Linked DNA regions of Homo sapiens: region 1 is linked to region 2. The links are contacts of gene promoters, found by promoter capture Hi-C in blood cells and fetal thymus (Javierre and others, 2016). All regions are on one chromosome and are shown on one strand. The core of a region is centred on a gene start or on the middle of the fragment in contact, and the rest is flanking DNA. Distances in the headings are between cores, read along the strand shown.

Region 1 (6,879 bases), core at 2,417-4,916, 2.6 Mb after region 2:
GAAACTGTACTCGTTTTCTGAGTATCGTTCAAGGCATTTTATAAATATTTCAAAATGTACCCTGGAATTAATATCGGTAGTGAGTTGCCTACCTAGTGGGTATTGTATTTACACCCTCTTTCCTCCTACAGAATTTACTTTTAAGTTAGAATTTGACGTCTAATCAATCTATGCTATAGGATTTGCTTTTATCAAGTTAAGTTTTGACATGTTATCAGCCTTATATGATATAGTAAACAGCCTTATAAAGTTGGGTCTAGTGACTACATTTAAGTTTACAAAGGGGTAATGAGTATCCTATACATGGCTACAGTCCAGAAAAGAAGTCCTAAGGAGCGAAACTCCTGGGAGAAATTTCGTCTTGTCTTTTGTACTTGTTTCTGTGGAGTTGGCTTGTTTTTATGTAATGGCCACTGAATCATATAAACAAGAAGACTTCCTTTACGTGTAAGCTGCTGGTTTAAAGCCAAATTTTAATTGGCTCGAGGCAAGAGCTATATATATGTGTGTGTATATATATATATACACACACATATATATATTTTTTGCATAAACCTTGTTGGCTTCGTTTTGTATATCCTTCCTGTTTTTTCCTTTTCACGTATGAATTATTGGTGTTATCAATGTTTTGTGAATTACTATAAGCTACCATAAATCTTTCTTGAAACATAGCTAGGTATATAGAGTTTCAGGTGACTGTTTAGGTACTTTGCACTATCACTTTTATTAAGTCAATTTCATGGGGGTTCATATTAGTTTCCTGAGGCTGCTATAATAAAATACCACAAACTTGGTGTTGTAGAGCAACTGAAATTTATTATCTTACAGTTCTAGAGGCCATAAATTCAAAATCAGCATCACTGGGCCAAAATCAAGATGTTGACAGGGCTGTGTTCCCTCCAGAGACTCTAGGGGAGAATCAGTTCTTTGACTCTTCCAGCTTCTGGTGGCTGCTGGCATTCATTGGCTTGTGGCCACATCACTTTAGACTTCAAGGCCAACATCTTCACATCTCTGCTCCCTTTTCACATTGCCTTCACTATGTGTGTCAGACTTCCCATTGCCTCCCTTTTAGGAATGTGTAATTGCATTTAAGGCCCATGGAGCTAATCCAAAATACTCTCTCAATCTGAAGATCCTTAATTTAGTCACATCTTCAAAGGCCTTTTCCCCGTATCTGGTAACATTTGCAGGTCCCAGGGATTAGACTCTGTTATCTTTGGGGAACAGTTTTAGCCTACCACAGGATTAGAAGGAGTAAGCCATTGAAATTGGCCAATCAGAGACTGTTACTTATCAATAGGAAAGTTGGAATATTAGGGATGGAAAAATGAAATGAATAGAATAAAATTGAACCTCCTATGGATATTGACTTCACCAGACCTTGGCTTACCCATTTACACCGCCAAGATAATGCAGTTTTAAGAGCACTTTTTATAATCAGAGATTGCTCTATAAATCAGATATTTCCTTATATATTTCTATTTTCTGTAGTCCTGTGTTTTCCAATTGTGTGCTGTGAATCATTAGTTGGCTGTGAAATCAATTTAGTGAATAGAGACCAGCATTAAAAGAAAGACATTAGGATAAAAAATATCTAAATGCATCACATGTAGTAGGGGTAATTATTGTTTCATGAAACAATATGTATATGTGCATTGGATCATAATATAAATATATTTCTTGCTGTAGGTTGTGGTAAAATGGAAAGCCTCCACTTTAAGTGATTTCATTATTCATCATACTCTTTGGCAAATGTTCTTTGTCATTAGGCAGGGCAAGAATTAAAGCTACATCAACTTAAAGTTCTTATGGTGTGGCATAGTCCAAGGGGCAGGGGAATATTTATTGCTTTAAGTAAATCAATTTACAGATACCGTATTTTCATAAGTATTCTTTCTTAGCATCATGTAGGTTCTTTTTTACATCTGCATTTACAGTAGTTCTTGGACCTTACAAAAGAAAGGTATATCCATCACTGAAGGTGTGAGGGATATACCTTCCAGGATGACAGATGAAAGGAAGATTCAAAATGTTTTGGAGGAAGCTTCCTCTAATGATCAATCAAGGCACCATCAACCCTTCTTAGGCTTCATGTCTTTTCCTATCTTACATATATTCCACTTAAGGGTGAAGTACGGCTGTCAGAAATATGGTAATTGGTTTGTTGTGATTTTCTGAAATCAGATATACTGTGTGAATGTTAGTGGTAAGAGTGACAGTAATTTTCCTTTAACCATCAGATGTCTTCCATCCTCTGTTGAAAAGTGCAGTGTTTTTGAAGGAGAATCTGGTAAGAGCAGAGCAAAGCAGCACTGAAGAAAGTATCGAAGCCAATTTTTTTTCCCGTATATTTAAACCTAAGCAATTCTTTTCAGCTATTCTCAGTACTTCTCCATAGGATATAGCATTATCTGGAAAGAAAAGCAACTCTGAACAGCTGAAGTAGTAGAGCTTTGTGACAGATTTTTTTTTTTTTTTTTTTTTTGGAGAGAGTCTCACTCTGTTGCCCAGGCTGGAGTGCAGTGGCATGATCTCGGCTCACTGCAACCTTCGTCTCCTGGGTCCAAGCAATTCTTGTGCCTCAGCCTCCTGAATAGCTGGGATTACAGACACCTGCCACCACGCCCAGCTAATTTTTGTATTTTTAGTAGAGACAGAATTTTGCCATGTTGGCCAGGCTGGTCTTAAACTCCTGACCTTAGGTGATCCACCTGCCTCCATCTTCCAAAGTGCTGGGATTACAGATGGGAGCCATCGCCCCTGGCCGTGACACTGATCATTATAAATATCATACAGATCATTTTCAGGTACCTTCATATTTTTCACATTGCACTGGAATAAACTGTGCAAAAGTCATACATAATTTTATTTTAGATTTGGTGTGTGTTGTTCAATGAATGTGAAAATGTATTGTGATAATCACTGATACAGTTCACCAAATCTTTTCCATTTCCTTCCACTTTGGCTAGATTGTATTTCATGGGAATTCTGAGATTGGTTAGGATCATGGTTAGGACTTTTTCTGGCCAATGAGTTATGAGCAGATGTGAAGCGTCACCTTCCGATTAAGGTGGTTATTTACCCTGATGAAACTCCAGAGCTCTCCTTCCCTTCTGAGACAGAGAGTTGTTGCACTGTCAGCCTGTGCTCCTGAGTTGTTATGAAGGGCTGATCCTATTCCACCAGCCATATTGGAAATATAGCTTTTGTTAGAAATGAGCCGTTGTTGTTTTAATTCACATGCCTCTGTTTTAAGTCATACAAATTTGTTGTTTGTTATTGGAGCATGACCTAGCCTATCTTGTCTGATACACTTATTTTTATCAAATTCTATTATGAAATAGAGAAATACTTCAATCCTGACTTTCTTTCTGCCTCTTATTAACAAAAATAAAATTATGCTTTAGCTTCTAGGCTGATTACTTTTTAAATAGCATATTCTTTTATTCTTCATTAAATATATAGGAAACATTTTGATTATGATTTCCAAAAAATTGTTTAGAGCTATTCTAGAATATTTATATATTATTCTTCTTCAGTTATTCCTAAAAGCTGAAAACCAAAGTTCAATATACACACAGACATACTGAAGGAATATTGTCTGTTATACTCTAATTCATAAATAACATTCATCTCACACATTATGTTTTATTATTAGGAAATAAGTAATGAGAAAAACCATATAGATTTATTCTTGGTTTTATGGCTTATTATAAAAATGGATAAACCAATTCTAATAGTTTTGATATCATTTTAATCTTGGCTGCTTTTAATAATTGAGATTATGAGATGTATTTGATAATTTCCTAGTTTAAAAAAACTAAGAATACATATTCTAATACATTTAGTTAAAAATGAGGTTGGAAAGTAAATCTGACCTAGATGATTGGTTTGACAATGAGGATTAACTTTACTAATTAGATTATGTGGCTGATGGGTGTTTTCTATAAATTGAATAAGCCATATCTACAGCTCCAAGGTTTGGCAAAAATGTATAAAGTGCATGATGATATAAATCATTTTATAAAAGATATTTTGTATCAAAATTAACAATATATCCATTTTACTAACCCCTTGATGGGCTCAAAGATCCTCCCACCTCAGCCTCTGGAATAGGTGAGACTACAGGTATGAGCCACCATGCCTGACTACTGTTTAAAGTTTTTGTAGAGACTGGGTCTTGCTATGTTGCCTAGACTTGACTCGAACTCCTGGACTCAGGTGATCCTTCTCCGCTTGGCCTCCCAAAGTGTTGGGATTACAGGTGTAAGCCACTGTTCCTGGATAAAACAAGGTGATTCTAAATGAAAACAGAACAAATATAGATTTTGCAAATCTTGGTGTTGCCTTTTTGGTATGTTTCCCAAACATTGTGAAAGCGAATGACTGTATAATACATGCTCTTAAAAGTCAGGTTGAAAGTAATTCTTTGTTTTCAGAAAAAGAAGAAGGGACTAGGTAAGTTTTTAGCTGACAGATAATTAAATAATTTTTGTGATAGATTTCTATGTACCTTTGTCATATAACTCAGAGAGAGTTCAAATAATTGGGTGATATTGTCATACGCTAAAACATGGATGAACCTTGAGGACATTATGCTAAGTGAAATAAGCCAGTCACTAAAAGACAAATATTGCATGGTTCCACTTATATGAGGCATGTAAAGTGGTCAAATTCTTAGAAATGGAAAGTAGAATGGTGGTTGCCAGGGGGTGGAGGGAGGGAGGAAGGGGAGTTGTTCCATGGATACACAGTTGCAGTTTTGCAAGATTAAAATTTTCTAGAGACCTATTGTTCAACAATGTGCATATAGTCAACACTACTGTACTATACACTTAAAGATGGTTAAGATGGTAAATTTTATGTTCTGTGTTTTTTTTACCATGGTTTAAAAAAATTGTGTGATACTGCTATAACACAGGTTTTCCCATTTCCATCCACTTATGTGAACACATTTTCTCAATGCTTACATCCATTTAAGTGAAGATAGTAATAGGATTGATGCTGTCCCCTCCAAGCAATTAAAAATTCATATTTGACTATATTAACTACATGGGGAAAACTTCATCTATCAAGGGATATGTTAAGAAGTTTTTTGTTTATAAGTGTTCATCAAAATTCATGATATATTTAAGTCATTTTGATCATTTGTGTACAAAAAGTTGTAATGATAACCCAAAGGGAAAAATATTTTCAACACATACTTTTAGTCATAGAAGTTAAAAAAGTTAAAATTCAATTGACAAATATTTTGTTGCAGGAAAATATGACACATGGTCAGTAAAAGCTTTCAAGCATAAAAACATATTAAGATAAAGTAACATTTTGTGAGAGGAGTAGAATATAACTTCAAGGAGAAAAAGCAATGATGTAAACTGGCCAAGTGCAGTGGCTCATGCCTGTAATCCTAGCACTTTGAAAGGCTGAGGCGGAAGGATCTCTTGAGCTCAGAAGTTCGAGAGTCTAGGCAACACAGGGAGACCTTTTTTTGCAGTTCAGTAGTTTTGTGGGGAACAGGTGGTGTTTGGTTACATGAATGTTTTTTTTTTTTTGAGACACAGTCTCACTCTGTCACCCAGGCTGGAGTGCAGTGGTGCAATCTTAGCTCACTGCAACCTCCGCCTCCCCAGTCCAAGTGATTCTCCTGCCTCAGCCTCCCGAGTAGGTGGGACTACAGGTGCGTGCCACCACACCCGGCTAATTTTTTGTATTTTTAGAGATGGGGTTTCACCGTGTTAGCCAGGATGGTCTCGATCTCCTGGCCTTGTGATCCACCCGCCTTGGCCTCCCAAAGTGCTGGGATTACAGGCATGAGCCATTGCGCCCGGCCCTACGTGGATCAATTTTTTAGTGGTGATTTCTGAGATTTTGGTGCAACTATCACTCGAGCGGTGTACACTGTACTCAGTGTGTAGTCTTTTATCCCTCACCCCCACTCCTGCCCTTCCCCCTGAGTTTCCAGAGTCATAATATCATTCTTATGCCTTTGTGTCCTCATAGTTTAGCTTCCACTTATAAGTGAGAACATATAATGTTTGGCTTTTCTTCCTGAGTTACTTCACTTAGGATAATAGTCTCCAACTCCATCCAGGTTGCTGTGAATGCCATTGTTTTGTTCCTTTTTATGGCTGTGTAGTATTCTATGATATATATATCACATTTTCTTTACCTGCTCGTTGATCGATGGGCATTTAGGCAGGTTCCATATTTTTGCAATTGCAAATTGTGCTGCTATACACATGCGTATGCAAGTATCTTTTTCATGTAATGAATTATTTTCCTCTGGGTAAATACCCAGTGGAAATTTTGTTTGCTTTGTTGAAGATCAGTTGGCTGTTAAGTGTTTGGCTTTATTTCTGGGTTCTCTATTCTGTTTCATTGGTCCATGTGCCTCTTTTTATACCAGTACCATGCTGTTTTGGGAATTATAGCCTTGTATTAATAGTATAGTTTGAAGCTGGGTAATGTGATGCCTCCAGATTTGTTCTTTTTGCTTAGTCCTGCTTCAGCTATGTGGGCTGTTTTTTGTTCCATATGAATTTTAGGATTTTTTTTCTAGTTCTGTGAACAATGATTGTGGTATTTTGATGAGAAGTGCATTCAATCTGTAGATTGCTTTTGGCAGTATGATCATTTTCACAATATTGATTCTATCCATCCATGAGCATGGGATGTATTTCCATTTGTTTGTGTTGTCTGTGATTTCTTTCAGCAGTGTTTTGTAGTTTTCCTTGTAGAGATCTTTCACCTCCTTGGTTAGTTGTATTCCTAAATATTTTATTTTATTTTAATTTATTTTATTTTTTGCAGCTGTTGTAAAACAGCTCTTGAGTTCTTGATTTGATTCTCAACTTGGTTGCTGTTGGTGTATAGCAG
Region 2 (7,100 bases), core at 4,526-7,025:
CAGTGCCACTACACTCCATCCTGGGCGACAGAGCGGGACTCTGTCTCAAAAGAAAAAAAAAGAAATAGGAGCATAAATGATTCTTAGTCTAAATGAATTACAATCTAGTAGGAGAAACTACATGTCCTTTATGTAGGGGGTTCCCAGGATCATCCTTAGTTTCCACAATTTGCTAAAAGGACTCAAAAGATTCAGGAAAAGTTGCTATACTCTCAGGTACAGTTTGTTGTTGTTGTTGTTGTTGTTGTTGTTTTTGAGATGGAGTTTTGCTCGTCACCCAGGCTGGAGTGCAATGGCGAGGTCTCAGCTTACTGCAACCCCCACCTTCTGGGTTCAAGTGATACTCCTGCCTCAGCCTCCTGAGTTGCTGTGATTACAGGCGCCTGCCACCACACCTGGCTAATTTTTGTATTTTCAGTAGAAATGAGGTTTCTACCATTTTGGCCAAGCTGGTCTTGAACTCCTGACTTCAGGTAATCCATCCTCTTTGGCCTCCCAAAGTGCTGGGATTACAGGCGTGAACCACTGCGCCAGGCCTAATCTATATCCTTTTGCTGTAATAAACTGTACCTGAAGCCAGGCACGGTGGCTCATGCCTATAATCCCAGCACTTTGGGAGGCCGAGGCAGGTGAATCACTTGAGGCCAGGAGTTCAGGACCAGCCTGGCCAACATGGCAGAAAACCTGTCTCCATTAAAAATACAAAAATTAGCCGGGTGTGGTGGTGCATGCCTGTAGCCCCGGCTATTCTGGAGGCTGAGGCAGGAGTATTGCTTGAACTCGGGAGGGGGAGGTTGCAGCGAGCCAAGATCGCGCCACTGCACTAAAGCCTGGGCAACAGAGCAAGACTCTGTCTCAAAAAGAAAAAGAAAAAGGATACATGTTAGAATTAGCAAAAGGGAAAAGGTGCATAGACCAAGTCCAGGAGAAGCCAGGAGCGAGCTTCCAGTTGCTCCCTCCGGCACAGCCCCACAGACAGTGCTTCATTCTCCCAGCAATAATGTGTAACAAGACATATGAAGTCTTGCCAACCAGGGAAATGCACCCAAGCCTTGGATTCCAGGTTTTTTATTGGAGATCCTGTAGGCATGCAGCACCTATGTGACTGGTCTTGGCTACTCACTTTCCAGCTTCCCAGAGATCAAACTGACATATAGTGGCCAAGGGCCTCACGTATATAAAACAGGTGTGAGCCATAGGTCACATCCCGAGCATAAACTCTCTGGTCAAATTAATACAGTATGGCCCAAACTCTCAAGCTCTCCTCTTATCAGGCAGGATATTCCAAAAGGGCAGCAGTAACCCCCCAGGAGCGAGTCAAGGGTCAATCCTCTCTTTGGAATGTGCACCATTTGAGTAACCTAAGCTTGCTAAGTTAACCCTTTATTGCACATCCAAGAAGTGTGTTATGTTGACTACAAAATTTTTTAAAAATTATCTAAATTTTTAATCTTCCTGATGGTAGAAAATTTGATGTAGTCATATTTGAGATAATTTGCTTTTGTTTGTTGTGGTTTTGGTCATTTAAGTTCTAAACTCAATCACTACCATATTCATTCTCCCTTTTATCTATCGCTGATTTGAAGGTCCAAGGGTTTAAGAGGGCCATGGCATATGTGGGGAAACACATTAGGTTTTGGGAGGCATTCTTGGTTTACCGTGGCATATGTAGAGTGTGACTTGCCTCCATTCCCGCCCCCCCCCCATAATAAAACATCTGCAAATATTTTCTGTTGTTGTTTTTAAGAAACTGGGTCTTGCTATGTGGCCAAGGCAGACCTCAAACTCCTGAGATCAAGTGATCATCCCTCCTCTGCCTCCTGAGTAGGGGGTATTGCAGGCACGGGTCACCCTACCCGGTTAACAATACAGGTTTTGTTTTCGTTTTTTTAGAGACTGAATCTCGCTATGTTGCCCAGGCTGGAGTGCAGTGACTATTCACAGGCATGGTTATAGTGCACTGTGGCCTGAGACTCCTGGTCTCAAGTGATCCTCCCACCTCAGCTTCCTGAGAAGTGAGGACTACAGCAGTGCACCCTTGTGCTTGGTTTCCATTGGCTTTTGACTGTGGGCCTCCCCATGGACCCCACTGAGATAGTCTGAGATGGCCTTTGGTGCCTACTCATTGCATTCTCCTTATCCTGACTCAAGTCATCCAGACCTCTCAGCTACTTCTGGAAGTCTGAGAATCTTTTCCTTCTTCCTCTAAATCTATAAGAAATTGGGTGAAGGGGTTAGTTCAGACCCTGTATGTCTAAACACGCCTCACAATCAGAGTTCTACTGAAAAATGATTTTCTTTTTTCTTTCTTTTTTTTTTTTGAGATGGAGTTTCACTCTTGTTGCCCAGGCTGGAGTGCAATGGCGCGATCTCAGGTCACCGCAACCTCTACCTCCTGGGTTCAAGTGATTATCTTGCCTCAGCCTCCTGAGTAGCTGGGATTACAGGCATGTGCCACCAAGCCCAGATAATTTTGTATTTTTGGTAGAGATGGGGTTTCTCCATGTTGGTCAGGCTGGTCTCGAACTCCTGACCTCAGGTGATCTGCCCACCTTGGCATTCCAAAGTGCTGGGATTACAGGCGTGAGCCACCGCACCCAGTCCCGAAAAATGATTTTCTTTTCCTTTTTTTTTTTTTGAGACGGAGTCTTGCCTGTCACCCAGGCTGGAGTGCAGCGGTGCGATCTCGGCTCACTGCAAGCTCCATCTCCCGGGTTCACGCCATTCTCCTGCCTCAGCCTCCTGAGTAGCTGGGACTGCAGGCGCCCACCACCATGCCCGGCTAATTTTTTGTATTTTTATTAGAGACGGGGTTTCACTGTGTTAGCCAGGATGGTCTCGATCTCCTGACCTCGTGATCCGCCCGCCTCGGCCTCCCAAAGTGCTGGGATCACAGGCCTAAGCAAGCCACTGTGCCTGGCCGAAAAATGATTTTCTTAAGTGTCCCTGGAAGTTATAGAATTTCCACCCACTAGCACCTTTTGAGGGGTGGGATGAGAAATCTTACTAGCATCTAATGCTTTTTTTTTTTTTTGAGACGGAGTTTAGCTCTTGTTGCCCAGGCTGGAGTGCAATGGCACGATCTTGGCTCACTGCAACCTCTGCCTCCCAGGTTCAAGCAGTTCTCCTGCCTCAGTCTCCCGAGTAGCTGGGATTACAGGCATGCAACACCATGCCGGGCTAATTTAATGTTTTTAGTAGAGACAGGGTTTCTCCATGTTGGTCAAGCTGGTCTTGAACTCCTGACCTCAGCTGATCCGCCTGCCTTGGCCTCCCAAAGTGCTGGGATTACAGGCATGAGCCACTGCGCCCGGCCAGCATCTGATGCTTTTATTCTCCTTGCTGATGCCCTTCTCTTCCAGTTCAGACAGCTTTGATCTCCTCTCTCATAGGTGGTGGTAGTGGTGCAGTTAAGAAACAAGAAACAGCGCATCATCCAATTAGGCGGAAGCACAGGATGGATATGGGAAAGCAGTAACATCAGACAAGAAGATCAGATGGGAATAAAATTGTGGAGAGCTTTGGATGCAGTGGAGAGCCACAGAAAATTATGGGATAAGGGAGGGACATAGGATGAGAGCTGTAATTAAGGAAGAGTAATCTATTGGTAGTGTGGATCTTTGTGAAATATATTTGAACACGCTTTGTAGGGCAACAATATCCAAATAAAGAAATCATATGATTAAGAAAAACAAACAGTAAATTCATTTTCTGGACTTGAAGTTCCATATATGTGAACAAAGTACAATGTACGATTGTTTTACTCATGTGAAATTAGGAAGGCTAAAACGATGGAAGATCATTTTCTGTAAAACCATGGTGATTTGAAAAACTTTAAGCTAGTGGGTTTGATCAAATTACATGGAATTCTTTCAAAACCAGCCTATTCAATTTTACTTCTCAGTTTTCCTTCCCTACCACCATCATCTGGGGAATAAGAGGGACTTGTCTTTAGTAGGCTTGAATCCTGTATACCACCTATGTAATGAATTTTTAGCATATTAAGGGAGTTGATTTTTGAATACAAAATTCCATTCCTATTATGTGAATGTTTTCAAGGTGTAGCTTCAAAAATATACAATATGGTTTGAATTCTGGGGAAGGAGTGTTCAACTTTGGGGTGGCTTTAGGGGATAACAGATAAGTCAGAATTTTGAAGGAACTAAAACAAAGGGAACAGCGTGTACAAAGCAGGGTGGCCTTACAATTGCTGCAGCATGAAGCATGAGAGTCGCGGCGACTTCAGCTTGAGAGGCATATACGGACGAAATCGTGGAGAGATTTGTGAGTGGGTGAAGACCTGTGGGACAGACTTCCGTTTCTGGACCCACCCAGGTCAGAATCACTTGAGATGCTATCAAAATTGAATAACTGAATACGGAGGTGGCCCAAGCACCTGTTTTTCACTAAGCTTCTCAAGTTATTCTTATGCAAACTAAGGTTTAAGAGCTACTTCCATGCAAAAAAACAAACAAACAAAAAATCCCAAGCTTAAACAGGAACCAATGGGTGGGGGAGGCGGGAAGAGCTGTTGAATGTCTTGTGATTAAGTAAAAGAACCTCTCACTTGAGGCCTACGGAGGTTGTGTTTAAGGGCAAGGTCTTGAAGGAAGGCTACGTTGCCTAGCCCTCCCCCATTGCCATCCCATATAGTCCTCCAGGAAAACTGTGATTTTAGCAAAGCCTTTCATGACCCACTCCATCTTTCTCTAAAGTCCAGTACCGCTTCATTAGTATTGACAAAAAAAAAAAAAAAAGGTAAATACTTCTTAAAGTTACGTGTTACAAAATCTTGTTTCCTTCATTCCGTTTCTATTCTTCAAGTTCCTTAAAAGCTGCGCCATTTTTTGAGTGAAAAATGTGCGTAACTTCTGATATCAGCGTAGAGAGGTGAGGGAGGGAGGGAGGGAATAAAATAAGAGGGAGGGAGGAAATACAAAAGAATCCTGAAGTTATGAATTATTTGGGTAACAGTATTGAGGTTTATTTTTGCTTAATGATGCTATATTTATGCAATAAAAACATTTGTCAATCTGTATTAATTCCTGGGAAAACGAACCACTTTTAGTCACTTAAAAAGCAAATCACTGACTTTAAAAATTAATTTCACCTTTTTCATTGGGGAAACCCTTTAAAAATTTCCAACTTGCACGAGAACTTCCCCCCCTTATTCTTCATACTCATTCATTCTAGAGATGAGTAAAATTAGGTTGCAATATCCCTGCTGCCTCCAGAGTACCTCTTTCACACAGTATTTTAAAAAATTATTTCCTTGTTTGCTCTTCAGTACCTCCACTCCTTCCTCCTGTGACCCTCCGACCATATTTACTCCTCCTACAAGACCAGGTCTCCAGTAATGAAATCAGTTTTCCAAGCAGTTACTTAATTAACGGCATTGAGTAGACAAGTGAGGTCCCGCCCCCTAGGAGGAGCTAACACCGCGGACCGAATCAGGCGGATGGTCGTTAACAAATGAACCCTTAATCTTTTCAGAGGAGGAAACATACACAAAGGCCCAATCAGAAGCCGCGATTTCAGGCGTCCGGAGGGGGCGGGGCTGGGCAAGCACCTCCCACTTCCCAACCTCCCGCCGCGGCCGACGGAGCCTCGCGGGCTCCAACAGGTCCCGCCCCCTCGCCAGGCGCGGCCGCTATTGGGCGGCGCGCTCCACACCGAAGCCTCAGTTGCTGGGAGAGGGAGGGCGGGGGCGGGGGCGGGGCCTGAGGTGGGCCAGGGGGATGAAGAGAAAGGCGGGGAGGCAAGGGCGGGCTGGGCGTATTCCACGAGCGCCTCGGCGGTTGGCGAAGCGGACGGGGTGCAGCCTCCCCGGTGCGAGGAACGGTCTCCGCTGACAGATACCCTCCTTCCGGCCGCGCCACTCGGGAGGCGGATCCCGTGGGCCTGAGGAGGCTTCCCCCGCCCGGTTTGCTTTCCCTCCCTCGCTGGCGCTGCCGCGAGTCCACCGAGCGGCCTCTGAGGAGCAGCCGCAGGAGGAGGAGGAGGTCGTCGGGGGCGGCGGGCGGAGACCGCGCTCTCGCTTCCCCGGCGGCGGCAAGGGCAGGACAATGGAGGTGGCGGTGGAGAAGGCGGTGGCGGCGGCGGCAGCGGCCTCGGCTGCGGCCTCCGGGGGGCCCTCGGCGGCGCCGAGCGGGGAGAACGAGGCCGAGAGTCGGCAGGGCCCGGACTCGGAGCGCGGCGGCGAGGCGGCCCGGCTCAACCTGTTGGACACTTGCGCCGTGTGCCACCAGAACATCCAGAGCCGGGCGCCCAAGCTGCTGCCCTGCCTGCACTCTTTCTGCCAGCGCTGCCTGCCCGCGCCCCAGCGCTACCTCATGCTGCCCGCGCCCATGCTGGGCTCGGCCGAGACCCCGCCACCCGTCCCTGCCCCCGGCTCGCCGGTCAGCGGCTCGTCGCCGTTCGCCACCCAAGGTGAGAACCGGCCGCGGCCGCTGGGGAGCCCGGGGAGAGGGCCAGGAGGGGGCGGGCGCCCTTGTGCGGCGCGACCCGCTGTCATGTCGCCGCCGCCCGGGGTGCGCGGCGGGGGAGGGGCGAGCAGGAGGGTCTGTGCTGGCGACGGTGACATGGAGGGCCCGCGCTCTGCGGCGTGTCGCGCTCGGCCAGCAACTTCCCCGGGCGCTGTGGACTTGACCGCGCCGCCGCCGCCGCCGCTGCTCCGCATTCTCAACAGCCGGGCGGCCCCTGCCACTCGCACTTTTGCAGACCTCTGTCGGAGTCTCCTGCAGCCGGAATCTCGGGTTCTTTGCCGGCTGCAGCCAGTTAACTGCTACCCGCCCGCTGCCTCCACAAAGCTTTGTCCAGGTCCATATGATCCTGATCATCTCGTCTATACTCACGTTATTTGAGCTGCAGGGGAGAAGGGAGGGATGAAGATGAAGTGATGGTGACTTTCTTTGATGATTGATTGCAGATCGGATGTCATTTATTTCTTATCTTGCATGTTTGGGGCTCTTTACCTTAATGAGTTCCCAGTTCTCTTCCCTCTCCTCTGCTGGGGACAAAGGAACCAAGAGACGTTGTTTTGTTGTGTGTCTCTTTCAAAGGTTTTATTTTGAGACGGCGAAGAGAAATAATACAAAGTG

The links. Contacts are between HindIII fragments. The CHiCAGO score rates a contact against its expected background, and 5 or more counts as called.
Region 1: a fragment that was not itself captured here is called in contact with the fragment with the promoter of TRIM24 in region 2 in 1 of 17 cell types (total B cells); the score reaches 6.5 in total B cells.

Annotation. Positions count from the first base shown.
Region 1 is chr7:141,015,599-141,022,477 of GRCh38, forward strand. No RefSeq gene overlaps it. Among named protein-coding and RNA genes, the nearest start is that of MRPS33, 4.1 kb to the left of the region's middle. The HindIII fragment of the contact is 3,243 bases long and covers 2,046-5,288 here.
Region 2 is chr7:138,454,484-138,461,583 of GRCh38, forward strand. It overlaps TRIM24 (tripartite motif containing 24), which reads left to right and starts at 5,776. Exons shown (of 19, transcript NM_015905.3): 1 at 5,776-6,429. The coding sequence starts at 6,066. RefSeq lists enhancers at 4,231-4,741, 5,145-5,927 and silencers at 5,438-5,827, 5,888-6,137, 6,168-6,647. The HindIII fragment of the contact is 2,319 bases long and covers 4,489-6,807 here.